Regions from separate parts of the Homo sapiens genome. Here regions 1, 3 and 4 are each linked to region 2. The links are contacts of gene promoters, found by promoter capture Hi-C in blood cells and fetal thymus (Javierre and others, 2016). All regions are on one chromosome and are shown on one strand. The core of a region is centred on a gene start or on the middle of the fragment in contact, and the rest is flanking DNA. Distances in the headings are between cores, read along the strand shown.

Region 1 (6,835 bases), core at 1,357-3,856, 300 kb before region 2:
CTGCCCGTGTGAGTGTGCACATGTGCATACACATACACACACTGCCACCACCCAGTTTCATTCCATTTCATACCAAAACCATGTGAGTGATTTCCACTAGTGTAGGATGCTTAGGAAGGACTTCATTATTTGAATGAGAAGAATCACTAAATCCTTCTGAAAATACTTCTGAAGACTTTCCAGACCTGATCTGGAGAAGCCCATATTAGGATTATGGGATCAATCACCAAAAGACTACATGAAACTCAAATCCTATTTTATACTGTCGTGTAATTAGTATAATTCATTATATATGTTATATTTACATTATGTATATTACGTTATTAACCTTTGAAAAATTCCAACATATTTCCCCATGCCCTGTCAATTTATTCTCCCAGCCAATGAGATCTAGCGCAGACTATGCCATATACCGTTGACCAGTAACTGTTAGCATGCTTTATTGAAAATGGATCATGCATCCATTCATTCATTCAATGAATATTTATTGGGGGCTGGGCATGGTGGCTAACACCTGTAATCCCAACACTTTGGAAGGCCAAGGGAGGAGGATCACAGCAGTCTGAGGGCAGCCTGGGCAACTTAGCAACATCCCATCTCTACAAAAAAAAATTTTTTTTTTTTAAACAGAGTCTCGCTCTCTCCCCCAGGCTGGAGTGAAGTGGCGCGATCTCGGCTCACTGCAACCTCCGCCTGCTGGGTGCAATTCTCCTGCCTCAGCCTCCTGAGTAGCTGGGACTACAGGCGTGCGCCACGATGCCTGGCTAATTTTTTCTGTTTTTAGTAGAGACGGGGTTTCACCAAGCAGGCTGGTCTCGAACTCCTGACCTCGTGATCTGCCCGCCTCCGCCTCCCAAAGCGCTGGGATTACAGGCGTGAGCCACCGTGCCTGGCCCCAAAAAATTTTTTTCATTAGCTGGTTGTGGTATTCCTAGATACTTGGAAGACTTGGGAGGATCACTTGAGGCCAGGAGTTTGAGACTGCAGTGAGCTATGATGACACTACTTGCACTCTAGCCTGGGAGGGACAGAGCAAGATCCTGTCTCAAAAAAAAAAAAAAAATTATTGAGCACATGTACTAGGCACTGTTTTAGGTGCTGGGAATACAGCAGCAACAACAACAACAAATACCTGAATCTGTGGGATTTATACTCTAGAAGGAAAGAGACATAAAATATACACATAAACAAATTGTTCTATTGTCTATTGTTAAATAACAAATGACCCCGAACTTAGTGGCTTAAAACAACAATTTCATTACCTCTCATGGTTCTGGGAGGTAATTAGGCTCAGCTAAACAGTTCTCACTTGGGAGTCTCGTATGCAGTGGCTAGGGCTGAAGTAATCTCAAAAGCTTCCTTACATGTCTGGAAGTTGAGGTTGACTGTTGGCTTGGACCGCAGCTGGGGTTGTTGGCAGACCATTTACAAGTGGCTTCTCCATGTAGCCTGGGCTTCCTCATATCATAGTGGCTGAGTTCCAAGACTGAGTGCCCCAAAAGGACCAGACAGAGATCGTGACCTAGTCTCAGAGGTCATATAGTGTTACTTCCATTACAGTTACAGGATGGAGAGCATAGATCCCCATCTCTCAACGGGAATAGTGGAAATGTCACATTGTAAGAAAGTGTGCGGAAAGGGAAATCTTGTGGCCATCTTGGAAAATGCAATCTGATATACATTATGTAAATAAATATGGATTATATGAAATGGTGATAGGTGCTATGAAGGGTAAAGGGCAGGATAGGGGAATTAGGAGTGTGGTGCAGACATGGGGGTGGAGAATTTGCTATTTTATGTGGGGTGATTGGAGAAGTCCTTGTTAAGGTGACATTTGGGCAAAGACCTGAAGAAAGTGAAGCAAAGTTTAGGTTTTACCTGTAGTGAAAATGAAGCTGCTGGAGGATCATAAAGCAAGTAGTGACACGGCCTGACTCACGTTTTTAAAGGATCACTGTGGCTGCTTGTGAAGAATAACTAATAGAGGCAAGGGCAGATGCAGGGAGACCAGATAGAAGGCTATTGCAATAATCCAGGTGAGAGTTGATGGTAGCTTGGACCAGGATGGGAGTTGTGAAGCTGCTGCTTCAGGTGATTGAGTTCTGTGGTGTGTTACTTACTCCTCTCTATTTTTCTGTCATTTAGTTTGTGCCCTGGGAGACAGTTTTGACCCATAATGCCCAATAAAATGAGTGATGGTGCTATGCCTGCCACCAAGAATACAGAAAGTCTATCATGCTAAATGTAAAAGTGGGAGTTTTGCAGGATCTGGAGGCACCTTTGAGGAAATGGGTGAGGAAACAGAGGGTAAAGATCAACAGGCAATTAGGGAATGGAGTGTCTTTTGACGTTGTAAAAGGTATCCTGGCCAGGTGTGGTGGCTCATGCCTGTAATCCCAGCACTTTGGGAGGCCGAGGTGGGTGGATTACAAGATCAGGAGTTTGAGACCAGCCTGGCCAACATGGTGAAACCCCATCTCTACTAAAAATACAAAAATTAGCCAGGCGTGGTGGCACATGCCTGTAGTCCTAGCTACTCAGGAGGCTGAGGCAGGAGAATCGCTTGAACCCGGGAGGTGGAGGTTGCAGTGAGCCGAGATCACACCACATCACTCCAGCCTGGGTGACAGAGTGAGACTCCATCTCAAAGAAAAAAAAAAAAAAAGGAAATGATGAGCAAAGACATTTTATACCTTCAGAAGATTTCAAGGAAACTCTGCCACCTTACATTACAACACTGGTGCAGCACTTCAAAAGAGACTATACAGTTAACACTGCTATTTCCAGAAACGTATTCCTTGTGCTAAAGAGAGAATGCTCATATTAATTTGGACAGTGTTGGAACATTTTGCTTCTTCAGCTAAAACACAGGTTTCCAGAGTGAAGTAACAGAACTGATAGCTTTGGTCTCTCTTTTGGACCATCTGGATAATGGTTTGAACCATCTTGATGATGATGGGAAACCCAAGTAGTAGAACAAATAACCTGAATCAGATCCTTAGAAATCAACTCGTATGTGCCTCTGTAACATACTGGGGAGGAATCTGAAAGCCAATCCAGTCTGATATGTTGAAGAAATTTGATCCTAATAGTGGTACTCCTAAAAATTATTCCAGTCTTCAGTAGCCAACTTAGAAACTTTTTCTAAGAAAGAAAGTCAAAGGTTAATGGATGTCCCAAGCTGAGCTTTTCAGTTACATAGCTGGAGAGTGTTTCTTTTCTACAGTTTATGGAAATACTTACTTGCTTCCTTGACTTACGGTTTCTGCCACAAGTTGAAAATTGGGGCTGGGCACGGTGGCTCATGCCTGTAATCCCAGCACTTTGGGAGGCCAAGGCAGGCAGATCACCTGAGGTCTGGAGTTCAAGACCAGCCTGGCCAAAGGTCTTTAGTAGAGATGGTGAAACCCCATCTCTACTAAAAATACAAAAAATTAGCCAGGCGTGGTGGAACGCGCCTGTAATCTCAGCTATTTGGGAGGCTGAAGCAGGAGAATCACTTGAACCCAGGAGGTGGAGGCTGCAGTGAGCCAGGATTGCACCGAGCCAGGATTGCACCATTGCACTCCAGCCTGGGCAAGAAGAGTGAAACTCCATCAAAAAACAAACAAACAAACAACAACAACAAAACATACAAAAGAAAATTGGAACCACCTGTAGCTTGGAGAATGTTAAAGAAGAGAGACAAATGATTTCAGCATGTCTTCAAAAGCATTGAGTCATGGATGCCCTCGGTGGCATCATTTTGCTAAAATGCAGACCTAATCACTTATTGTTCAGGTTCAGCGTGAGGTTGACTGGTATGTGTTTGGGCGGGGAGTAGGGAGGCTCAGATGGTGAGGTTAGTCCAGGCAGAAATAAGCTTCGTGGGAGATAATGCCAGATTTCTTTAAGAAATGGGTAACAGCCGAACACGATGGCTCACGCCTGTAATCCCAACACTTTGGGAGGCGGAGGTGGGCAGATCACAAGGTCAGGAGTTTCAGACCAGCCTGACCAAAATAGTGAAACCCCGTCTCTACTAAAAATACAAAAAATTAGCCGGGTGTGGTAGTGCATGCCTGTAATCCCAGCTACCTGGGAGGCTGAGACAGGAGAATTGCTTGAACCTGGGAAGCGAAGGCTGCAGCAAGCCGAGATCACGCCACTGCATAGCATCCCGGGCCACAGTGTGAGACTTCGTCTCAAAAAAAAAAAAAAAAAAGAAAGAAAGAAATGGGTATCCCACTCTCTGTAATGCACACTCAGGATTGTCAAAGCTGGAACCTCAAAGAGAGCTACTCATTTCAGAAAACGTAAGAGAAAAACAGTAGAGACATTTTTACCATCTGAGCAGCTCCCAGGTGGAAAAGATGGATAGCTGATTGCACTGAGCCTGGGATTCAGCATGTGTATAAGTCAGCATGTGTGGTGGAAGGAAAACATTGAGGTGCTTAACTTGACAGGCAAATTGCCATGAAATAAAGGGCAAGTGGAGATCTACATTTGACCAATGTCAAATTAAAAAATGGGGAAGTTAACAGCTGTGGCCGGATTTTATTTAGGAATATTATTTGCTACCTTCTTATGTTTAGAAGAGTTGGGGACTTTCCTAGAGACACAGGAGGTGAGAAAAAGCCTGAGGAAGTTCTCAGCCTGGGTTTCTAAAGGAAGAATTCCCATTAGCTTTCAGTAAGAAGCAATTAAGATCTCTGTCTTCAAAATATATTTCATAAGAAATGCATGAGCAGCAGTGTTATCATCATCAAGAGCTCACTGTGAGTTGCTGCATGGTTTCCTAGGAGGTAATGATGTAGTTTAACTTCGAATTAAATTAATATTTTAAAGAGATACCCAGAAGCAAAGCTATACTTGTCTAATCTAGGTTGTTGCTATGGAGTTGACCAGGTATGATTATCAAGTAATTAAATTGACTCCATAAAGCTTCATGACAAAATAAATTGGACTATTTTATAGGTATGCTTGATATATGACTTGTTCCTGATAATGGATTGCAGAGTAAAATGTAGTAAAAATTCCTTTTCCTCTAGCATACATTCTTTTTAAATTTAGCAGTGTTTATATTTTATTATAGTCATGCATAATTTTCAGAATGCAACTGTGGACAGTAAATAGCTTTTCCAATTCATATTTTTGAAGGACATGATGATTAATATCATTGTTTTACAGATGAGAAGACTGAGGTATCATTCAGAATTAATTTTTTTTTTTCAGGCAGAGTCTTGCTTTGTTGCCCAGGCTGGAGTGCAGTGGTGCAATCTCGGGTCACTGCAGCCTCCGTCTCCCCAGTTCAAGTGATTCTGCTGCCTCGGCCTCCCGAGTAGCTGGGATTACAGGTGCCCGCCACCATGCCTGGCTAATTTTTGTATTTTTAGTAGAGCTAGGGTTTCACCATGTTGGCCAGGATTAAATTTTTTAAAGGTTTCTGGTGTAGATAAGTGGTCAGGTCCGTTTGGGTCTTCTCTTATTACTGAATATGTACAATAGGAGTTAGAGGTGGCAAAGGGGCCATCTCCCATGACAGCAAAAGATCATCCATTTTTAATGACTTTTCTGTTACCTGAAACATAGAGGTAATAAAATCTGACAACGTGAGAGTGCCACGATTCACCAGTTTAAAATCATTTTATAGGAGGAAAATGATTTAACTTTCATTCATTCAGGAAATAATTCTTATTTCTCAGCTTTCACATAAATGTAGCTGTGTGTATAAGTGCTGTGCATCAGGTGTGAATAAGAGTTTTCTCTTTCCTACGAACCTTGCTTCCTGGCAGGCTCTGATCTCTGTTTCTCCTATTCAGAGATCTTATTCCTAGCCTAGAAAAGTGAGTCTTAAACTTTTCTGCATCATGACCCCCTCAAAAATCTCTATAAAAGCTATGAATTATCTCCCCCAGAAAAATGCACATTTGTACATATACACAACATTTTGCAAGCACTTTCAGACTTGAATCCTGTTTCTGGGCTTGTTCATGAACCCCAGTGGACAAGATGCTTCTGGCCAGTCATGGTGGATCACACCTGTAATCCCAGCACTTTGGGAGGCCAAGGTGGGTGGATCACTTGAGGTCAGGAGTTCAAGACTAGCGTGGCCAATATGGCGAAATCCCATCTCTACTAAAAATACAAAAATTAGCCGGGCATGGGGGTGCAGGTCTGTAATTCCAGCTACTCCTGAGGCTGAAGCATGGGAGGCGAAGGTTGCAGTGAGCTGAGATTGTGCCACTGCGCTCCTCCCTGGGTGACAGAGCAAGACTCTGTCTCGAGAAAAAAAAAAAAAAAAAAAGTTATGCTTCATTCCCTATCTTCCTAGAGAAATGATACATTTCTCAATAATCCTATATGAACATATGTGCCCAAAGAACTAGAGTTTCTTCTCACTCTAACATGTGGCTTACTATTATTATATTACTATTACTATATTACTGTTATTATTATTATTTTTGAGATGGAGTCTCACTGTGTTACCCAGGTTGGAGTGCAGTGGTACGATCTCAGCTCACTGCAACCTCCGCCTCCTGGGTTCAGGCAATTTTTCTGCCTCAGCCTCCTGAGTAGCTGGGACTACACCCGCGTGCCACCACACCTGGCTAATTTTTGTATTTTTAGTAGAGACGGGGTTTCACCATAGTGGCCAGGCTGGTCTCGAAGCCCTGACCTCATGATCCGCCCGCCTTGGCCTCCTAAAGTGCTGGGATTACAGGCGTGAGCCACTGTACCCGGCCATTATTATTATTATTTTACTTCTTCCTTTATCTTTGCCCAAGATGTTCTTCGACATGTAGGAAAGTCCAGGAACCTCTAGAACCCCATAGATGATCAGATAGTCTAGTTA
Region 2 (6,736 bases), core at 3,837-6,336:
ATGCCACCAAGAAGCAATTCCAGTTCTGAGTCTGGATGCCTGCCTACTCCCTAATGTGAAATAATGTTATTTTCCCATTCAAAAAAAAAAAAAAAAAAGAAAAGAAAAGGGTGGGGAGGGGAGAAATGCTAAATTTCAGATAGTGCCAGTGCCACACTTGAGTTACAGAGCTCTGTCAAGTATGAAGTTGGCTATAGTTATCAGTGCAACTACTGATGACAGACTTTCTCATTAGCTGAGATGGGATGAAAGTGTTTAACTGACTCAGAGTGGTAGGTGAGCTCAAATAGGAAAGAAACCAATGTCTGGTATGGATAGCAAAGGAGTCAATGATCCCATCTTTACTACCCTAAACTGCATGACCTCACATTGTATTTGAGTGACCTTGGCACAATCCACCTGAAAATGAATGTTTTTTTCTACTAATGAAACTCTGAACTTACAGAAAACTATCTACTTTCAGGCCAGGCATGGTGGCTCATGCCTGCCTGTAATCCCAGCACTTTGGGAGGCCGAGGAGGGTGGATCATGAGGTCAGGAGTTTGAGACCATCCTGGTCAATATGGTGAAACCCCATCTCTACTAAAAATATAAAAAATTAGCCGGGTGCTGTGGCACATGCCTGTAGTCCCAGCTACTCGGGAGGCTGAGGCAGGAGAATCACTTGAACCAGGGAGGCGGAGGTGCAGTGAGCTGAGATTATGCCACTGCACTCCAGCCTGGGTGACAGAGCAAGACTCTGTCTCAAAAAAAAAAAAAAAAAAGAAAAAGAAAAAGGAAAAAACTATCTACTTTCGTTTATCTCCCATCAAGACATCCATTCATCCATTCCAGAGTTACCTTTTGACTAGCTCCCTATCTTAATCTTGGTCTAGAAAATTAAGGTAACTTCTTTTTCAGAATTTCAGGAGCTGGTTCAAGGAAAAAAGTTCCCTTTTTAAGCTTCTTTCATCCCAGCTTTCCAACAATTACCCTTAGGCCTTACTCAGGTCTTAGAGAAGCAGAATCCATTGTGCTTATTCACATTGATGACTACATCAATGTATCTAAGAAGAGTAAGTGTTAAGACCAAACACATCATCAACTTGTTCAGCACAATTTGTTCATACCACAGTAACTGTGGGATGCAGTCTAAGATATTCTCTTCTTTCCTTTTTAGCAGCAAACCTCTGTGACTCAAGGAAATCTCAGTTGGATGTCCTGTCTCATCTACTCAAGACCAGTAAGCAACACTTACTTAAAAAGAACATATTCTCTTTATTTCTGCTTGGGATACAAATGTTCAGTTTGGATGATGAGAATGAGGCAAGTACTGGAGACAATGGCTGGCTCTCCTGTTTGTCCCAATAAACTCCAATGGAGGAAGAAGCTAAACAGGTTTTGGATGGTTTCGGTCTACTGCATCTAGCTTATCAAATCTACAGCCTGGTACTTCTGGAACAGGACTTCCCTGCCCCAGTGATGACAGTTAAAGATGGCAAAAATGAAGAATTCAACATGTATACGCAGTGCAGTCTGATGTCTTCAGATGTTCTCTAAAATTCTGTATTTGGTCAGAGCTGGGAGTGAGATCAGGGTGCTTGCACATTTCTGCTCCACTGCTCCCGATTCTGCTTTGCTGCCTTGGAGGGAGAGTAGATTTAGATCTGGGGGCTGGTGGGGGCCATAGCCTTGGCAGCTTGCTGGGCTAACCAGTACTTATATCTTTTGGTCTTGGGCTTCTCAAAGTTCACGACAGACATAGGCACTCTCACAGTATCAAGCCCATTTACCTGCACACAAAACAATGGGAATTCTCAGAGATCAGTCAGGTAAGTAAGATTTAGCACCACCTAATCCCAGCTTTTCACCCTGACTTTTCTCCCAGTCAGAAAAAGGAGAGCTAGGGCTGGGCACAGTGGCTTATGCCTGTAATCCCAGCACTTTGGGAGGCTGAGGCAGGTGGATCACCTGAGGTCAGGAGTTTGAGACCAGCCTGGCCAACATGGGGAAACCCTGTCTCTACTAAAATACAAAAATTAGCCAGGCACGGTGGCGTGTGCCTGTAATCCCAGCTACTAGGGGGACTGAGGCAGAAGGATCGCTTGAACCTGGGAGGTGGAGGTTGCAGTGAGCTGAGATCGTGCCACTGCACTCCAGTCTGGGCAACAGAGTGAGACTCCAGCTCAAAAAAAAAAAAAAAAAAAAAAAAATTAGAAAAAAGGGAGAGGTAGGTGCTAGGTGCGGTGGCTAACGCCTGTAGTCCTAGCTACTTGGGAGGCTGAGGTGGGAGGATCGCTTGAACCCAGGAGTTTGAATCCAGCCTGGGCAATGAAACAAAACCCTGTCTTTAAGAGAAAGGAAAAAAAGGAAAAAGTGGGGGAAAAGGAGAAAGAAAAGAAAAAAGAAAGTATGCAAAACACTCACCGTCACCTCACACCAATACTCGCCCCACCGTGTGATAGGCTCTTCTGGTAACTTTAATGTATGTGGGGCAACCACAACACCAAGCTGCAAAAAAAAAAAAAAAAAAAAAAATCTCAGCTCAAATGAACTCTGTTTTCATGACTGCCACTCTAGGGAACCTCATAAAGAGGGTTACAGGATTCCCTGCACAGGGATGAATAAAACTGGGGTGTCTACTCTGGCTGATTCCATGGGAGAGAAGGGCATACACCTTCATAGACGGTAGTAGAGAAATTCAATTCTGATTTCTCAGAAAGGGAGGTAGATTCACAAAGAGAAACAGGGCTTGAGGCCAAAACCACTTCATCCACAAAAGTAACAATTCTCCAGTGAGTCACAAATCCCCAGCATTTCCCTAGGTAGACAGGAAATAAATGGAAACCACCACCTTTTCCTATCAGTCTTCAAATTCTATGTGACCATCCTTAGTCCTTAGCCATTTCCTTCCCATATTCCTGCAAACTAACCAAGAATACTTTCCTTAACTACAACTGGATGATCACACCCCTTCCTAACAAAGGGATCAATCCCAGGCCTCCTTTCCAGAGGCAGCTTCCACCTCAGGGGTAGAGTGGTTTTTGGGAACACTCACTCACATTCTTAAAGAAGTGGCGGGCAACTATTTCAGGGTTCAGCTCCCATTTGACATTGTTCTTCATCCCTACCTCCAGGCGACAGCTTTTTAGAAATTTCACTGTCTGAAAGGAATTATGAGTTTGAGTCAAAGGAGAGGAAACATGTCAGGGTCACAGGGTATGCAAGCCAAGCAAGATGGCTCATGCCTGTAATCCCAGCACTTTGGGAGGCCAAGGTGGGTCTCCCAAAGTGGGTCACTTCAGCCCAGGAGTTTGAAACCAGCCTGGCCAACATGGCGAAACCCTGTCTCTACCAAAAATACAACAGTTAGCCGGGCATGGTGGCGGGTGCCTGTACTGATTATCTTCTCATGTGTCCATGTTCTCTCCAACTTGTACGTAAATATCCTTGAAGGCAGAGCCCTCATCTCAGACTATTCCATGGGTTCCCTGATTCCCAGATTGGGACCTCCCTTGGTACTTTAAGGCACTTCACCCAACACATCAGGGATCTCCCAAGAGGTCTCCATACCTGTTTTGTGGGGCAGCCACAACACTTCCCCTTTCTCCCACTCTTGGGTCTGCAATCAGGAGACCTCAAGGGAATCAGGGAGACTCTCAGGGTGAGGTTGGTAAGTCTTGTGACAAATAAACACTTTTTATGTTTCTACTCACCGCCTCACCTGCCTTGGTCTGGATCTTCTCTAATTTTCCTTCTTGTCTCAGCTAGAAAAGAAAGTTAAAGATGAAAAGCAGTAAAAGAAAAATGAGCCCATGTTAAATAGCATCAAACTATTCCTATGTTGGACATTGGCTGGGCTTCTGCATTCCTGTTCTTCTAGTTCCTATTTCATTTTCAAGTTAAGTTAAATGTCAAAGGGAAGGAAGCTGCAAGAGAAAAGAAGTTTTATCTCCCCAAGTCTCTCTGTCCTTCCTTTGAGCTCACCAATTTCTCCTCTTCAAACAGCTTCTTGTTTTCAGGGGATGCATATACAGCCAGTCCCTGAGGAAGGAGTCGATTCCGGCCTAAAGATTTCTTCACTGAGACCAGGTCACCCCGGACTCCAACATCTGTCAATTAGAACAGAGACAGGGGAATTAGAACCATCTAGGAGTCCCTAAAGAAAAGATGTCAAAAAGAGAAGCACCTCTTAGTTTCTCACAGTGCTTATTTTTCCTAAAAGAAATGCTAATTCATATTCACTAGGAACAAGATTTAAGAGACTGCTAATTAGTTTCTTTAGAACTTGATGTATAAATTTAATATCCCCTGTATAGAGGGAGTTGTCGTCCCATGGAGGATTTCAGTATCTGTGGCACAAATTGTCAGGCTCCTCTCCCCACACACTGTTAATGATGTTGCTGCCTTTATGTTTTAATTTTCAATGCTGGAGGCCAGTGTCACAATCACAATAGTTTTTATGGCTTCCTCTTCTCACATATAGAGTTGGATTGTTTCCACAAAGAAAAAGCAAGGCAAATAGTTGAGGGGGACGGGCTAGAAAAAGCTGATGCCAAACCGGACCAGCCTGAGAGGAAGCGCCTCGGCCCGGGCCTTACTCTCCACCGACTGCGTCAGGATGAGCTCCAGGTTTTCTTTGGGCCGATGCTTCGTGTCCTCCACCAGCTTATAGACGCGATGTCGCCGGTGCAGGCGCGGCTTCCGGCCCTCCCCGGCCAGCGGTACCTTCCACCAGCGCTCCACGATGACCGTGCCCTGGCGGCCAGGAAAGCGACGGTAAGCTAGTCTCCACAAGGAACACCCTCTCCCTCCACCACGGCCGCCAGCCCCTCAAGGAAAGCCCGCCACCCCCACATCGGCCCCCTCCAGGTCCCAGTGCGCCTCCAGAAACAATACTCGAGCGTATCTACCCCCTACCCCAGACTCAGCCCTCACCCGATTTTGAGAAAGGCTGAAGTTGCAGGCCAGGTCAGGGGCGTTCCCTTCATGTCGCGGCCGCAGTAGCTCCTGGACGCCTCCCCGAAGCAGCCGTCCAGCGCCCGCCCGCAGCAGAGCTCTGCCCGGGGCCGTGACAACGGGCGCCGCCATGTTCACAGGCACAGAATGAGACCTGAGGGAGGACCCCGGCGTCGGCGGCAGGAAAGGCCCCCGCCAGTGCTGCCTGCGGCGCGCCGGTACGGCTGAGCGAAAGTATGGGGAGCGGGCCGGGGAACAGATGGCACCGCGGCTTGCCTATTTTTGCTTTTTGGCAGAGGTGACGGACGCCTAGAATTACTGACTGATAATGGAATGAGTGTTAGGTGGACTGACGCCGGAAAAGACGCTCTTCCTCTTGAAAGTGTGGGCTTTGCTGTAGCTCCAGTTGCTGGGCTAACTTTTAATTCTAACGTTCTGTGATGACTGGATACTGACCGGAGAATGAATGATGCTCTCACTTTTCCTTACTTCAAATCTACCTAAAAGTGGTAAAGGATGGGATCCCTTGGAAAACTCTGCCAGCTCCAGGAGGAGCCTGACCCTTAATCATTATACTGCAGTATTTAAGCTAATAAAGGAGAATTCTAAATCACAAGCTATGTAAACCGTAGAAAAAAAAGCAACTATGGTAAGGCCGCGACAGTTCCCTCTGGGGAGGGTCTCAGTACTGGACAGAAGACCATAAAAACTGGATGAAAGAAGGTCCATTTGGCAGAGATTATGGAAAGACTGGCCCTTAAACATACTGACCAGTCCTCCTTCCTCCTAAATACACTACTTGGCCTCCTGGACACCGGTCTTCTTCAGTCTCGTTTGCTGATTTCTCCTTTTCTCCCCGCTTCTTAGAATGCCCTCGGGACTCCGTTTTTGAACCTTTACTCTTCTCAGTATACACTCACTGTTGATCTCATCCAGTCTCGTGGCTTACAATACCATTTATAAGCCAATGACTCCCAAATTTCTAGTTCCATCCTAGACATCTCCCAAACTCGTCTCAAATATTCAACTGTTTATTCGTCATTTTCCTCTTACGTATCCAAAGGACACCTCAAAGTTAACTGTCCCAAACTAATTTATTTATTCCCCCCTCGCCCCCAAAACTGCCCCATCTGCAGCCTTTTTCCTCTCAGTTGACAGAAACTCCATTCTTTCCATTCTAACTCTTTTCTCTCATACTCCATCAGGAAATCCTGTGGGTTCTACCTTTAAATTACAGATAGTCCCTGACTTGGATTTACAATTTTTGAGTTTGTGATGGTGTGAAAGTGATGTGCACTCAGTAGGACATCAATAAGTTACATGAAATATTCAACACTTTATTATAAAATAGGCTTTGTGTTAGATGATTTTACCCAACTGTCGGATAAGTTGTCTGAGCATGTTTAAGATAGGCTAGGCTAAGCTATGGTGTTTGGTAGGTGTATTATATGCATTTTCAACTTATGATACTTTCAACATACGATGGGTTTATCAGGACATAACCCTATTTTAAGTCAAGGAGCACTTGTATTTCCAGAATCCAGCCACTTGTCACCACCTCCAATGCTCTACCTTGGAATAAGACACTACTTTCTCCTGGATTACTGCAATAGTCCCCTAAAAGATATCCCTTAATTCTCTACAGTTTATAATTCTATGTAGCTTATTTATAGCAGCCAGAATGATCTTTTTAAAGCATAAGTCAGATCATGTCATTCTTCCACCCAAAACTTTGTAATGACTTCCTCCTTTACTCAAGGTAAAAGAAAAAGGCCATCAGATGGTCTACAAGGCCATA
Region 3 (6,608 bases), core at 3,767-6,266, 280 kb before region 2:
TAAAGTGAGCTTTTAAAAACGCCCATCAGATCATGTCATTCCTCTGTTTAAAACCTTAAATATATGATGAACACATTGGACAAGTGTGAGATGATGTACATAAAGCGCCCAGCCCAAAGGTTCTGCTCACTGAGTTTAGTTCTCCTCGTTTCTTCCTTTCACTCTCTTTTTTCTTCCTCTTACTTTCCTCCCCAGCTCCTTCCTCTTATCACCTATCAGTCTCTTATCATCTGAATTTCTTTTTTCTTTCTTCCTTCTCACTTGCTTTCCATTTTTTTCTTCCATCTTTACTTTCTCTCCTTTCTGCTTTAGTTTATTTTAATATAGAATTTAAATAGATTTAGAAATTCATTCTTTAATTATTTACTTCTGAGTTCCAAGCTCTTCATTTAAAAATCAAAAGAGTACTGGGCACTGTGGCTCACGCCTGTAATCCCAGCACTTTGGGAGGCCGAGGTGGGCGGATCACCTGAGGTCAGGAGTTCGAGACCAGCTTGGCCAACATGGTGAAAACCTGTCTCTACTTAAAATACAAAAATTAGCCAGGCGTGGTGGCAGGGGCCTGTAATCCCAGCTACTCAGGAGGCTGAGGCAGGAGAATCGCTTGAACCCAGGAGGTGGCGGTTGCAGTGAGCCGAGATTGCACCATTGCACTCCAGCCTGGGGGACAAGAGCGAGACTCCGTTTCAAAATAAATAAATACATAAATAAAAATAAAAATAATAAAAAGAGCTTGGCCAGGTGTGGTGGGTCACACCTATAATTCCAGCATTTTGGGAGGCCAAGGTGGGTGGATCACTTGAGGTCAGGAGTTCAAGACCAGACTGGCCTGGCTAACGTGGTGAAAACCCGTTTCCACTAAAAATACAAAAATTAGCCAGGTGTGGTGGTGCACACCTGTAGTCCCAGCTACTGAGGAGGCTGAGGCAGGAGAATCACTTGAACCTGGGAGGCAGAGGTTGCAGTGAGCCAAGATCACACCACTGCACTCCAGCCTGAGTGACAGAGTGAGACTCTGTCAAAAACAAACAAACAAACAAACAAACAAACAAACAAACAAAAAACTTGACCTTTTATCAGGATTAAATTAAGATGCTTTTTACTTCAGCATGGTCTTCAGTTAATTTTTTTTGTAGGTTGGAGAGCTTCTTTAGAAAAATGCATATAGTTTCCCAGAAGGAGGAAAGCAATCCCCTTCACATTTTATAGGGAGAAAATGGTGCAGTCACTTAGAAAGGGTCATGTGGTGGTGATTTGAAACAAGTCAGAAGAACCCAGGCTCTCGCCACAGCCCTTCCTCTCTTAGGCAAATTTCTGCCTCCTGGCAGTAGAGCAGTGAGGCAAGTTAATTATTCAGTGTTTGTGGAGGTCAATAAATAAATGAAATACCTAATTAAATAAATTTTTGGAGTGCTGAGAGCAGGCAGTTTCCTTAACTTAACACATTTCCTTTGGAGGACCAGTTCTCTTCCTTGAAAGAACAGCCAATCTAGCCATATGGGCTGTTTCCTTCTAGTTCTGAGAAGGTGGATTTATGACCCTCTGTGTACTCATCTTTCTGTTTCTGTCTCTGACATAGACAACTCTGCCAGGTGCCAGCACTCCTACCTCCACTGAAAGCAAGGAGACATCCTGAAATTACAGAAGGAAGAAAGGAAGTTACAATTCAAGAAGGACTTCTTGCTGCCAAGGCACAGTAGCACCAATACAAAACAAATGAGGGAGGATTTTAGCCTAGAAAATATGTCTCTGTGGAAAAAAGACCCCCCCCGCCCCCCCATCCCAGGTCTGGCCCAAAGGAGGGCCTCCCTCCGGTAAGGCTTGGGCGTTCACATTCAGAATCCACTAACATTTGTTGAGCAGATACTGCATACAAGACAGCTCCATATACATCTTCTTCTATACCATTTTAATCTAAGAGAAGCCTTCCAATGTTTTCCCAAATGAAGTCTTATCTTGAAATGAGACTCTGTAGACTTAAACCAACTACAGAAACACTTTAGTATTAAGGTGCCACCCACGCTGAAACATTTTTCCTAGCTTTGACCATTGCTCTGTGAACATCCAGAGCCTGTTTACCACATTCCATTCCAACAGCTTGTTCTTAATCTCTCACTTCAGAGATTTACTGAGCTCTTTCTGAATAGAATTACTCTTGTGAAAGAAACAGTAGCAGCATGTTATATTAGTTAGGATAGACTAATTGCTATAACACATAGACCCAAATAAGAATAATGGCTTGCCCAGGTGTGGTGGCTCACGCCTGTAATCCCAGCACTTTGGGAAGCCAAGGTGGGAGGATCACTTGAGGTCAGGAGTTTGAGAACAGCCTGGCCAGTATGGTGAAACCCCCATCTCTACTAAAAATCCAAAAAAAATAGCTGGCATGGTGGCTGGCACCTGTAATCCCAGCTACTCGGGAAACTGAGGCAGGAGAATCACTTGAACCCAGGAGGTTGAGGTTACAGTGAGCTGAGATCGCGCCACTGCACTCCAGTCTAGGTGACAGAGCAAGACTCTGTTTCTAAAAAAAGAAAAAAGAATAATGACTCAGATACAATAGACATTTATTTCTTGCCCTTTGGGTGGCAGGGCACTTCTCCTCCATACAGCTATTTCAGGAATTCAGGATATGAAGGCCTGCCATGCAAAAGGCATGGAAGAGCATATGTGGGAAAATTTTATGGGCCTAGAAGTAGGGTATATCCGTCGAAATGGGCTCCACAGATTGGTGTTGGTTTGCAAATAGTTTGTTACTGGTACTTGACAATATAAGAATAGAAATGGAAAGTAAACCTTTAGAAAGCTTTATAGCAATCTGGGGCCAGGCGCGGTGGCTCATGCCTGTAATCCCAGCACTTTGGGAGGCCGAGGCAGGCGGATCACTTGAGGTCAGGAGTTCAAGACCAGCCTGGCCAACATGGTGAAACCCCGTCTCTACTAAAAATACAAAATTAGCCGGGCATGGTGGTGTGCGCCTATAGTACCAGGTACTCAGGAGGCTGAGGCAGGAGAATCGCTTTGAACCCAGGAGACGCAGGTTGCAGTGAGCCAAGATCACTCCACTGTACTCCAGCCTGGGCAACAATATCAAAACTTCGCCTCAAAAAAAAAAAAAGTTTTATAGCAATTTTGATACAGTAATTATCTGTTGAATCTAAAATTTAAAAATTGGGGCTGGGTGCGGTGGCTCATGCCTGTAATCCCAGCACTTTAGGAGGCCGAGGAAGGCAGATCACTTGAGGCCAGGAGTTCGAGACCAGCTTGGCCAACATGGTGAAACCTCGTCTCTACTAAAATTACAAAAATTAGCTGGGCATGGTGGTAGCCACCTGTAATCCCAGCTACTCAAGAGGCTGAGACAGTGAACCCAGGAGGTGGAGGTTGCAGTGAGCTGAGATCATGCCACTGCACTCCAGCCTGGGTGACAGAGTGAGACTTTATATATATGGCTTAATTTTCTTTTTTTTTTATAATTAACATTTTATATTTTAAAAAAATATAAAAAAACTGAACTCACTGCCTTTGGACTGTAAGAATATAAGGAAAAAAAATTGAACTCACCATTGGTAAAGGGTCATAAAGTTTTTATGACAAAGGAAATAGATGCCCTGATATTAAGAAGACAACAAGAATTTAAAAGACCTTTAGTTCTCAGGAACCAGCACTAAAAAACTCTGATTCAGAACCCCCAGAAATGAGGCAAAGATGATAGATGAAATGTTTCAAACTGTGTTAACAAACAGTGCAATCAGAGGAAAAGACAGGAGCAGCACAGAGAACAGCATTGACAATTTTAAGAGATGAGGGCAACCACCCTACCCAAAATTCATCACCTTTTTCTTGGAAGGGGCCTGGAAATTAAGTACAACTTGGAAAGCAGGGACTAAGAGAACATTATATTAAATAACTCTTCCCGCCGGGCATGGTGGCTCATGCCTATAATCCCAGCACTTTGGGAGGCTGAGGTGGGTAAATCACAAGGTCAGGAGTTTGAGACCAGCCTGGCCAAGAGACCAGCCTGGCCAATATGGTGAAAGCCTGTCTCTCCTAAAAATACAAAAACTAGCCAGGCGTGGTGGTGGGTGCCTGTAATCCCAGCTACTCGGGAGGCTGAGGCAGGAGAATTGCTTGAACCTCGGAGGTGGAGGTTGCAGTGAGCCGAGATTGCATCATTGCACTCCAGCCTGGGCGACAGAGTGTGACTCCAACTCAAATAAATAAATAAATAAATAACTCACTCTTCCCTTAAATATGATCTGGCCACAGGACCAACTCTGTAAACAGGGTAATTTTTTTCCCTATGGTAATGTAAAAAGTCAATTAAATTTCCTTTTTTCTTTTTCTCTGTTTATGATTCTTCATCATTCAGCTTAAAAAGTCAGGTAATCTTGACTAGGTGTGGTGGCTCATGCTTGTAATCCCAGCACTTTGGGAGGCTGAGGTGGGCAGATCACCTAAGGTCAGGAGTTTGAGACCAACCTGGCCAACATGGTGAAAACCGCGTCTCTATTAAAAATACAAAAATTAGCTGGGCATGGTGACAAGCACCTGTAATCCCAGCTACTCGGGAGACTAAAGCAGGAGAATCTTTTGAATCCAGGATGCGGAGGTTGCAGTGAGCCAAGATTGCACCACTGCACTCCAGCCTGGGTAACAGAATGAGACTCTTTCTCAAAAAAAAAAAAAAGTCAGATAATCAAAAGACACTTTTTACTGTTCTAAATTATAGGATTTTCAACATTGTTTCTATCTAATTCAGCATCATTTTACAATTTTATTTAAAAGTAGTTAATTGGATGGGCATGGTGGGTCACACCTGTAATCCCAACACTTTGGGAGGCCGAGGCAAGAGGATTGCTTAAGTCCAGGAATTCAAGGCCAGCCTGAGAAACATGGTGAGACCCTGACTTTAAAAAGAAAAAAAAGGGGAGTGGGCAAAAAAAAAAAAAAAAAAAAAAGAAATTGATTCAGGCCTGCCTTAGTCTGAAAAAATTTTTTACTTTCCTATGGACAGTACCTCAGCTTGGTCCAAAATATTTCCCCCATTACTGTTTCTGAAAAAGGATGTCAGAGATGCTATTTCAAATCACTGAAGACTAAGTTGAGCCTGCTAACATTGGAGAGAACAAACTTGAAGGCAAGGAAGGTTTAACCCCAACACTGCTAAGTATCCTGCTACTACTCGATAGGAGATGACTATCAGGAGTTTAGATCTTCTTGGTCACCAAAGCCATCTGGCTAGTGGGACAGGGCCCTGCTACCTTGATTTCTCTTCTACCAAAGTCTCAATTTCAGAAATTCTTCACTAAAAATTCTTGGTTGGGTGCAGTGGCTCATGCTTGTAATCCTAGCACGTTGGGAGGCCAAGGAGGGCAGATCACCTGAGCTCAGGAGTTCAAGACCAGCCTGGACAACATGGCAAAACCCCATCTCTACAAAAAATATAAACATTTTGGCTGGGCGCGGTGGCTCTGACCGGGCGCGGTGGCTCTGTCCAGGCGCGGTGGTTCATGCCTGTAATCCCAGCACTTTGGGAGGCTGAGGCGGGTGCATTGCTTGAGTTCAGGAAGTTAGAGACCAGCCTGACCAACATGGTGAAACCCAGTCTCTACTAAAAATACAAAAATTAGCCGGGCATGGTGGCAAGCACCTGTAATCCCAGCTACTTGGGAGGGTGAGGCAGGAGAATGGCTTGAACACGGGAAGCAGAGGTTACGATGAGTCAAGATCGGCCAGGCGCAGTGGCTCACGCCTGTAATCCCAGCACTTTGGGAGGCCGAGGCGGGCGGATCACGAGGTCAGAAGTTCAAGACCAGCCTGGCCAAGATGGTGAAACCCCCATCTCTACTAAAAAAAAATACAAAAAATTAGCTGGGCGCAGTGGCAGGCGTCTGTAGTCCCAGCCACTCAGGAGGCTGAGGAAGGAGAATCATTTGAACCCGGAGGGTGGAGGTTGCAGTGAGCCGAGATCGTGCCACTGCACTCCAGGCTGGGTGACAGAGTGAAACTCCGTCTCAAAAAAAAAAAAAAAAACAAAACAATGAGCCAAGATCACACCATTGCACTCCAACCTGAGTGACAAAGCGAGACTCTGTCTCAAAAAAAAAAAAAAAAAAAAAATCAGCCAGGCATGGTGGCACATGCCTATAGTCCCAGCTACTCCAGAGGCTTAAGCCTGGGAGGCAGAGGTTGCAGTAAGCTGAGATCACACCACTACACTCCAGCCTGGGTGACAGAGCAAGACCCTGTCTAAAAAAAAAAAAAAAAAAAAAAAATTGAAAAAGCAATTTGGGCTTTGTTTTTTAATGTCTTTATTTTATTTTATTTTATTTTGTAGTTCTAGTAACTAATTTTTGCGTATTTTACAAAAATGTTGGCCCATAATGCATTACAAGGAAAAAAATCTTGTTCCTCACCACATACGGTTTGAGAAGCACTAGTATATGTTACATTCCTTCATATTTGTTCTGCTAGAACTCAATCTCATGGTCACATCTAACTGTAGCAGAAACTGGAAATGTGATCTAGCTATATGCAATGGGAAAAGAGAAGAACACAGAACTTGGTGAACGCTAGAAGTCTCTGGCATGCTTAGGTTGCACACT
Region 4 (6,501 bases), core at 1,512-4,011, 260 kb before region 2:
AAAAAAAAAAAAGAAGAAAGAAATGCCCAAGTGAGTCACCACACATATTCTTCCCTGCCCCAATTGTAAAACAGCAGCCCCACCTCTTCCCTGATCAGGGTCAATTACACTGGCAATATGATAATGATAATTTCTCTTCTTACTTGGTGATTCCTGAATACAAGGAGTTCAAAGTGCACAAGTGGTAGCCATACCATGTAACTTAATGTGACCTTTCCTGGAAGAGTATGGCCCTTTGGGGATCAGAATGTCTCACCATGCGGAGCCCAGAGCTGCAGAATAGGAAGCATAAAGTCCCTCAGTGGGTTACTGAGAGCGATGATAAGTGGGGCTATACTTTTTCTGCTCCAGATGTCACTCAGAGCAGGCAGTCTTTCGTGCCACCTAGTATATGAGTCTAAGCAGTGTTTCTAGTGTGGAAAGTGTTGCCTTCAGAACCTGAAGAGACCTGCCAGGTACTTCGATTCCGTCTTTGTGGTAGGGGATGCAAGATGCAGCAATTTGTCTTTTACTTTAGAAAGGATGTCCTGGCATGTCCCTTAAACACCAAACTCCTAAAACACCGACTGAGGTGATCATCCTCTGAATCTTAGGGATCTCTTCCATGATCTGGAGGACATGTGTCTTACCAAAGCCTCTAGTATGCTAGCTACTCTTGCTCATCCTGACTGACAGGCATGATGTCATTGATATAATGGATCAAAGTGATGTTCTGCAGGATGTCTGAACAGTCTAGATTGCTTCTGACTAGATGGGGTGGATCCACTGTAAGCTGGACTTTGGCTAGTACTCTTTTATCCAGCTCTTATAAGCTCCCACTCCAATAGGGGAGTGAAGATGACACTTTGGGACTATGTTTCAATGTCAGTTCAGATCCTGTGCCCAACAGTCATCTGTGCACAGTCACCTGAATAAATACTTACAAGTCCCCTTTTGGAAGGACTGGGGAATCATTATAGTATATAATTACCATGGTGTTGCCAGTCTTTGGGGACCAGTGTACCTCTATAGTCAATGAGTTTTGGGTCTGAAAACTGACTTAGGTTCTGGAACCAGACAAAGGAGCATGCTTTTTAACTGAGAGCTCCATCCTCAGGTTCCTGCTCATCCATTCTTGCTCTCTGTTAATTACACATCTTCAGCAATATCCTTGTTTTGACTGCACATCCATTTTGCCCCCTAAGGATAGCATGTTTTATTAACCATCGATACAACTCTTCATGTCAAGCCCCTTGCCAGTCTCTCTGATACTTGTAACCCCCATCCCACGGCTTCTGGCAATTAAGTGCTGCCACCAGCCTCTACTACCTCAGTACACCCATCATCCTTGTCACTATAACAGAGCCAAGCTTGTGACAGTGTCTCCTCCTGTTAGCACTGGCTTGTAGAAGAAAGCCACAACTAAGCTTCTGTGTGATGCTGGCACTTTCACCAGCACATTTTTGATGGCCTTGGTAAATGGGATTCCTGGCTGGTGCAGTGGCTCACACCTGTAATCCCAGCACTTTGAAGGCCAAGGCAGGCAGATCACCTGAGGTCAGGAGTTTGAGTCCAGCCTGGCAAACATGGTGAAACCCTGTCTCTACTAAAAATACAAAATTAGGCCGGGCGCGGTGGCTCATGCCTGTAATCCCAGCACTTTGGGAGGCTGAGACAGGTGGATCATGAGGTCAGGAGATCGAGACCATCCTGGCTAACACAGTGAAACCCTGTCTCTACTAAAAATACAAAAAAAAAAAAATTAGCCGGGCGTGGTGGCATGCGCCTGTAGTCCTAGCTACTCGGGAGGCTGAGACAGGAGAATTGCTTGAACCTGGGAGGCGGAGGTTGCAGTGAGCCAAGATGGCGCCACTACACTCCAGCCTGGGTGACAGAGCGAGACTCCATCTCAAAAATAATAATAATAATAATACAAAAATTAGCCGGGCGTGGTGGCGTATGTAATCCCAGCTACTGGGGAGGGTGAAGCAGGAGAATCACTTGAACGCGGGAGGCAGAGGTTACAGTGAGCTGAGATTGCACCACTGCACTCCAACCTGGGTGACAGAGCGAGACTCCATCTCAAAAAAAAAGGGATTCCTCCGGGCCTTCTATGGAGCATTCTTAGAATTCACTCTATCATGCCCGTTTTGCTGAGCCATTTAATCTTTTCTTCCCCCAGTTGCTCTGGCAATACAGACATTTGACCTTCACTCAGCAACCATTATCATTTCCTCCATGCTCCTAGGAGCCACTAGGGGCAGGTCCTTACCAGGAAGTTAAATTCCTTTTTATTTTTATTTTTTTTGAGACGGAGTTTCATTCTCGTTGCTCAGGTTGGACTGCAATGGCACGATCTTGGCTCACCGCAACCTCCGCCTCCCGGGTTCAAGCAATTCTCCTGCCTCAGCCTCCTGAGTAGCTGGGATTACAGGCATGCGCCACCACACCTGGCTAATTTTGTACTTTTAGTAGAGACGGGGTTTCTCCATGTGAGTCAGGCTGGTCTCGAACTCCCGACCTCAGGTGGTCCGCCCACCTCGGCCTCCCAAAGTGCTAGGATTACAGGTGTGAGCCACGGTGCCCGGCCAGGAAGTTATATTCTATCCCAAGAAAGTGGTCCCCAAGTTAAAAAACTTGCCCTTAATCCACTTTTATATTTCATCCCCTTGATTAAGCACTGTCAAAATCCAATCCCATGGGTACTTCCCTACTCTTACCACTAAACGTTGGCCAGTTCTTGCAGGATACTTTGGGTTATAGTCCCTTTCTTTCCTTATTAGGCCTAGTATGTCCTTAGCTACCAGACTATGCTGTAATTTAACCCATGAGAGTTTAAGATTAAGATCTTCACAGTCAGGAGATCATGGGAGGGGAGAGGCCTCTGCAGTGTCTTAAGGCTCTGAGGGTTCAGAGGAGTGCAGAAAGCCAGAATCTTTGGGGGGACCTGCCCAGATATTTCTATTCCACGTATTAGGGTCCCAGGTTTTCCCAAGCAGAGTCCTGACCTTGATTGCAGATCTGCCTCTGGGAGCTCTATTGAAGTCCTCGAGTTTGGTCTTCAGATTTTTTTGCTCTCTCACTGCTATAGATAAGGGCCTCTTTGTAAGCCATCAGAAAGGCCCTCTGACCTTCACAGTTAATTTCCAACGTTTGTTAACTACTCTCAGCTTTTCATTTTCTCCTGGCAGGGCCCAGTGCAACTTAATAACAGCCAGCCAATTCCATTGTCCCTATACTCACTGCTGTCCCTCCGCCTACCCCCTATGCCTGAACTGTTCCACCACAGGAGCATTCTCTCATTTCACATCAGTGAAAATTTAGCAACTTGGCTACCATCTTGTTCCAGAGACTACCTGTACCCCACAACATCCAGGAGGGGTTCTTGTTGCCAGCCAGGCAGTGAGTACTGCAGTTCCCTAAACCTATCTTACTGCTCGCTTTTTCAGACCACTTCTGGAGTGGTCACCTGAGTCAGTTCAGGTGGTCTGGGGAGCAGATACTGAGACAAAGTTAGGAGTGCAAGAGGCTTACTGGCTGGCAACACCTGTGAAAGATAAAGAAGGAGGCAGGAATGGGCAGAGAAAGACTTTGGATAGGCTTCCCTATCCTGATAAAGTAAAGGAAGGCAGAAGCAAAATCGGGCAAGAAAAACCTCAAGCTGTGGTGCAGATCCTTCCAAGTGGCAGTCTACCCAGTGGAAAGCACCAGGGCAAAGGTTATCACATAGAGAAATCAACAGTGGGCAGAAACGGCCAGGTCCCAGTAACCACACTGTCAGTCATTGGCTTGGGGCTGTTCAGGAAGAGTGTGGCCTTAGCTCTGACATGGTAGTGGATCCCAAAGGTGATGCAGCTGTGGGCTGACAGTGAATTGCTTTCTGGCAGTTGAATGGCAGATTCTTTCTAAGGGATGTCATGGCTGCCACATCAGGTATTTTTGTCTTGGAGTTCAGTGCTATTTCCATATGTCATTTTGCCTCTGTATTATGAGACTTATACTTTGAAAAAGATTCAGATAAAAAACCTGAGCAAATCAGCAATTAATGGGATTCTGCTAAAACTCTTTGCCACAGTGGACTGTGAGAGAACTGGAGGAGTCTCAGGGCTTGCGGGATGTGTGTATAGGTTTGAGCTGCCAAGCTTCTGTCCCCTTCATTGATGAGAGGAGGAAAGCGAGATGGGAAGTAGAATCAGCTGTTGTTTGGGTGTGTGGAGGAAAACTGGCTCTCTCCTCAGAATGGCGTTTTAACAACCCAGAAAAAGAATTACACGAAGGAATCTGTTCCTTTTAATTTCTTTTTTTGTTGTTGTTTTTTGAGATGGTGTCTTGCTCTGTTGACCAGGCTGGAGTGCAGTGGTGCGATCTCGGCTCACAGCAACCTCTGCCTCCCGGATTCAAGCGATTCTCGTGCCTCAGCCTCCCAAGTAGCTGGGATTACAGGCACATGCCACCATGCCCAGCTAATTTTTTTTCTTTATTTTTAGTAGAGACGAGATTTCACCATGTTGGCCAGGCTGGTCTCGAACTCCTGACTTCAGGTGATCCACCTGCCTCAGCCTCCCAAAGTGCTAGGATTACAGGCTTGAGCCACCATGCCTGGCCTGGGAATTGGAAATATATGGCCTGTCTTGCTCTTTTTTTTTTTTTCCTTTTAAATGATATTCTTATTTTGAATGTAGACTGAAGGCCAGGTGCTATGGCTCACGCCTGTAATTCCAGCATCTTGGGAGGCCAAGGTGGGTGGATTGCTTGATCCCAGGAGTTCAGGAGCAGCCTGGCCAACATAGGGAAACCCCATTTCTACTATTTAAAAAACAAACAAAAAAATGAATATATACTAGAGACTTTGAACTTACTGGAATTTAGCTGCTCAGAGAGTTAGAGATGCGCAGCTAGGACAATAGGGGCTACAGGGTGTGGTGAGATACAAGGAACTTGGAAATGAGTCTTTCCCTTGTCGGGGAGTGACTCTGATTAAACTGAAAAAAGTTGCTTGGAATGCTTTGTCCCAAACAATTATCCTTTATGTACTAGATTTGGCTACACTTACTCACGTTCCTAGCTGATAACAAAAGGAAGAGGTGGGAGGCAGAACATGACTTTTTCCTCTTCAAGAAACCCAAAGGAAACAATACAGTTATGAAATCTGGGATCATCTTCATAATTCTCAGAGAAAACAGAGCCCCAAATATTTTGAAGACTTGGCTAGGAGTACAGCTTTCCCAGAAGTAAAATTAGAATACAGATATCTTGACTCCTGACTTGGTACGCTACCTCAGTGATGTCCATTCATGAAATCTCTGTAGCTCTGCCTCCCTAGTCAAACTGAGAAAAGAGTGGACGACATGGGTCACAAAGAATGAAATATCTTTTGGGGACTCTTGGAAGTCCTGTACTCAAAGATTGGACATGTATATAAAGTGAGTATATGCAGTGACCATTTCTTATCTTCCCTAACCAGAATAGAAATTGTACTTAGCCAGGAAAAGCCCCAAGTGTTAGTATAATTACATATTATTATTGCTGTTGAAGAGCAAAGTATTTGTAAACAAAGCTCAAGAGAGAAATGATGAGTAATACGCTAAAAGAGCATCAGGGTGAGTGGTCCTTGCTTTTCCCTCCTTTTGCCACCACTGTGGTTTTTTTTTTTTTTTTTGAGACAGAGTCTTGCCCTGTTGCCCAGGCTGGAGTGCAATGGCACGACCTTGGCTCACTGCAACCTCCGCCTCCTGGGTTCAAACGATTCTCCTGCCTCAGCCTCCCGAGTAGCTGGGATTACAGGCGCCCACCACCATGCCCAGCTATTTTTTGTATTTTTAGTAGAGACGGGGTTTCACCATGTTGGCCAGGCCACCATGTTGTTGAACTCCTGACCTCAGGTAATCTGCCTGCCTCAGCCTCCCAAAGGGCTGGGGTTACAGATGTGAACCACTGCGCCCGGCCACCACTGTGGTTTTTAGGGTTTACCTCAATCAAGCCTTACCATTGCATTTATCATAGAGACTTTCTGAAGTACTGCCTCTTTCCTGCTCAAGAACATTTAATAGCTCTCCATTACCTACCAATAAAGCCCACATTTCTTTTTACTTCTTTCTTTTTTTTTTTTCTTAAAGAAACATAGTGTAGCTCTGTTGCTCAGGCTAGAATACTGTGAAAGCCCACATTTCTTTTCTTTTCTCTTTGTCACCCAGGCTGGAGTGCAATGGTGCAATGGAGCGATGTCAGCTCACAGCAACCTCTGCCTCCCGGGTTCAAGCGATTCTCCTGCTTCAGCCTCCTGAGTAGCTGGGATTACAGGCACCCGCCATCATGCCTGGCTAATTTTTTTGTATTTTTGTAGAGACAGAGTTTCACCATGTTGGCCAGACTGGTCTTGAACTCCTGATCTCAGGTGATCCACCTGCCTCAGCTTCCCAAAGTGCTAGGATTACAGGTGTGAGCCACCGAGCCCAGCCGAAAGCCCACATTTCTTATTCTGATATTCTAGGCTTTATACAATCTACCCCAGAATTTACCTAT

The links. The method cuts DNA at HindIII sites, captures the fragments that hold promoters and counts their contacts. A CHiCAGO score of 5 or more calls a contact.
Region 1: a contact is called between a fragment that was not itself captured here and the fragment with the promoter of MRPL9 in region 2, in 16 of 17 cell types (M1 macrophages, M0 macrophages, M2 macrophages and 13 more). The highest score is 15.0, in M1 macrophages.
Region 3: a contact is called between a fragment that was not itself captured here and the fragment with the promoter of MRPL9 in region 2, in 1 of 17 cell types (M1 macrophages). The highest score is 5.8, in M1 macrophages.
Region 4: a contact is called between a fragment that was not itself captured here and the fragment with the promoter of MRPL9 in region 2, in 3 of 17 cell types (M1 macrophages, neutrophils and M0 macrophages). The highest score is 7.4, in M1 macrophages.

What each region holds. Positions count from the first base shown.
Region 1 is chr1:151,460,480-151,467,314 of GRCh38, forward strand. No RefSeq gene overlaps it. Among named protein-coding and RNA genes, the nearest start is that of POGZ, 4.4 kb to the left of the region's middle. The HindIII fragment of the contact is 2,507 bases long and covers 1,354-3,860 here.
Region 2 is chr1:151,758,410-151,765,145 of GRCh38, forward strand. It overlaps MRPL9 (mitochondrial ribosomal protein L9), which reads right to left and starts at 5,087. Exons shown (of 7, transcript NM_031420.4): 1 at 4,918-5,087; 2 at 4,581-4,737; 3 at 3,967-4,091; 4 at 3,696-3,746; 5 at 3,042-3,143; 6 at 2,407-2,490; 7 at 1,238-1,772. The coding sequence starts at 5,070. The coding sequence ends at 1,641. It also overlaps the pseudogene RPS11P3 and a transcript of OAZ3 not described here. RefSeq lists an enhancer at 4,858-5,237. The HindIII fragment of the contact is 8,401 bases long and covers 941-6,736 here.
Region 3 is chr1:151,477,060-151,483,667 of GRCh38, forward strand. No RefSeq gene overlaps it. Among named protein-coding and RNA genes, the nearest start is that of POGZ, 21 kb to the left of the region's middle. The HindIII fragment of the contact is 4,425 bases long and covers 2,805-6,608 here.
Region 4 is chr1:151,499,443-151,505,943 of GRCh38, forward strand. No RefSeq gene overlaps it. Among named protein-coding and RNA genes, the nearest start is that of CGN, 8.7 kb to the right of the region's middle. RefSeq lists an enhancer at 4,449-4,949. The HindIII fragment of the contact is 2,715 bases long and covers 1,405-4,119 here.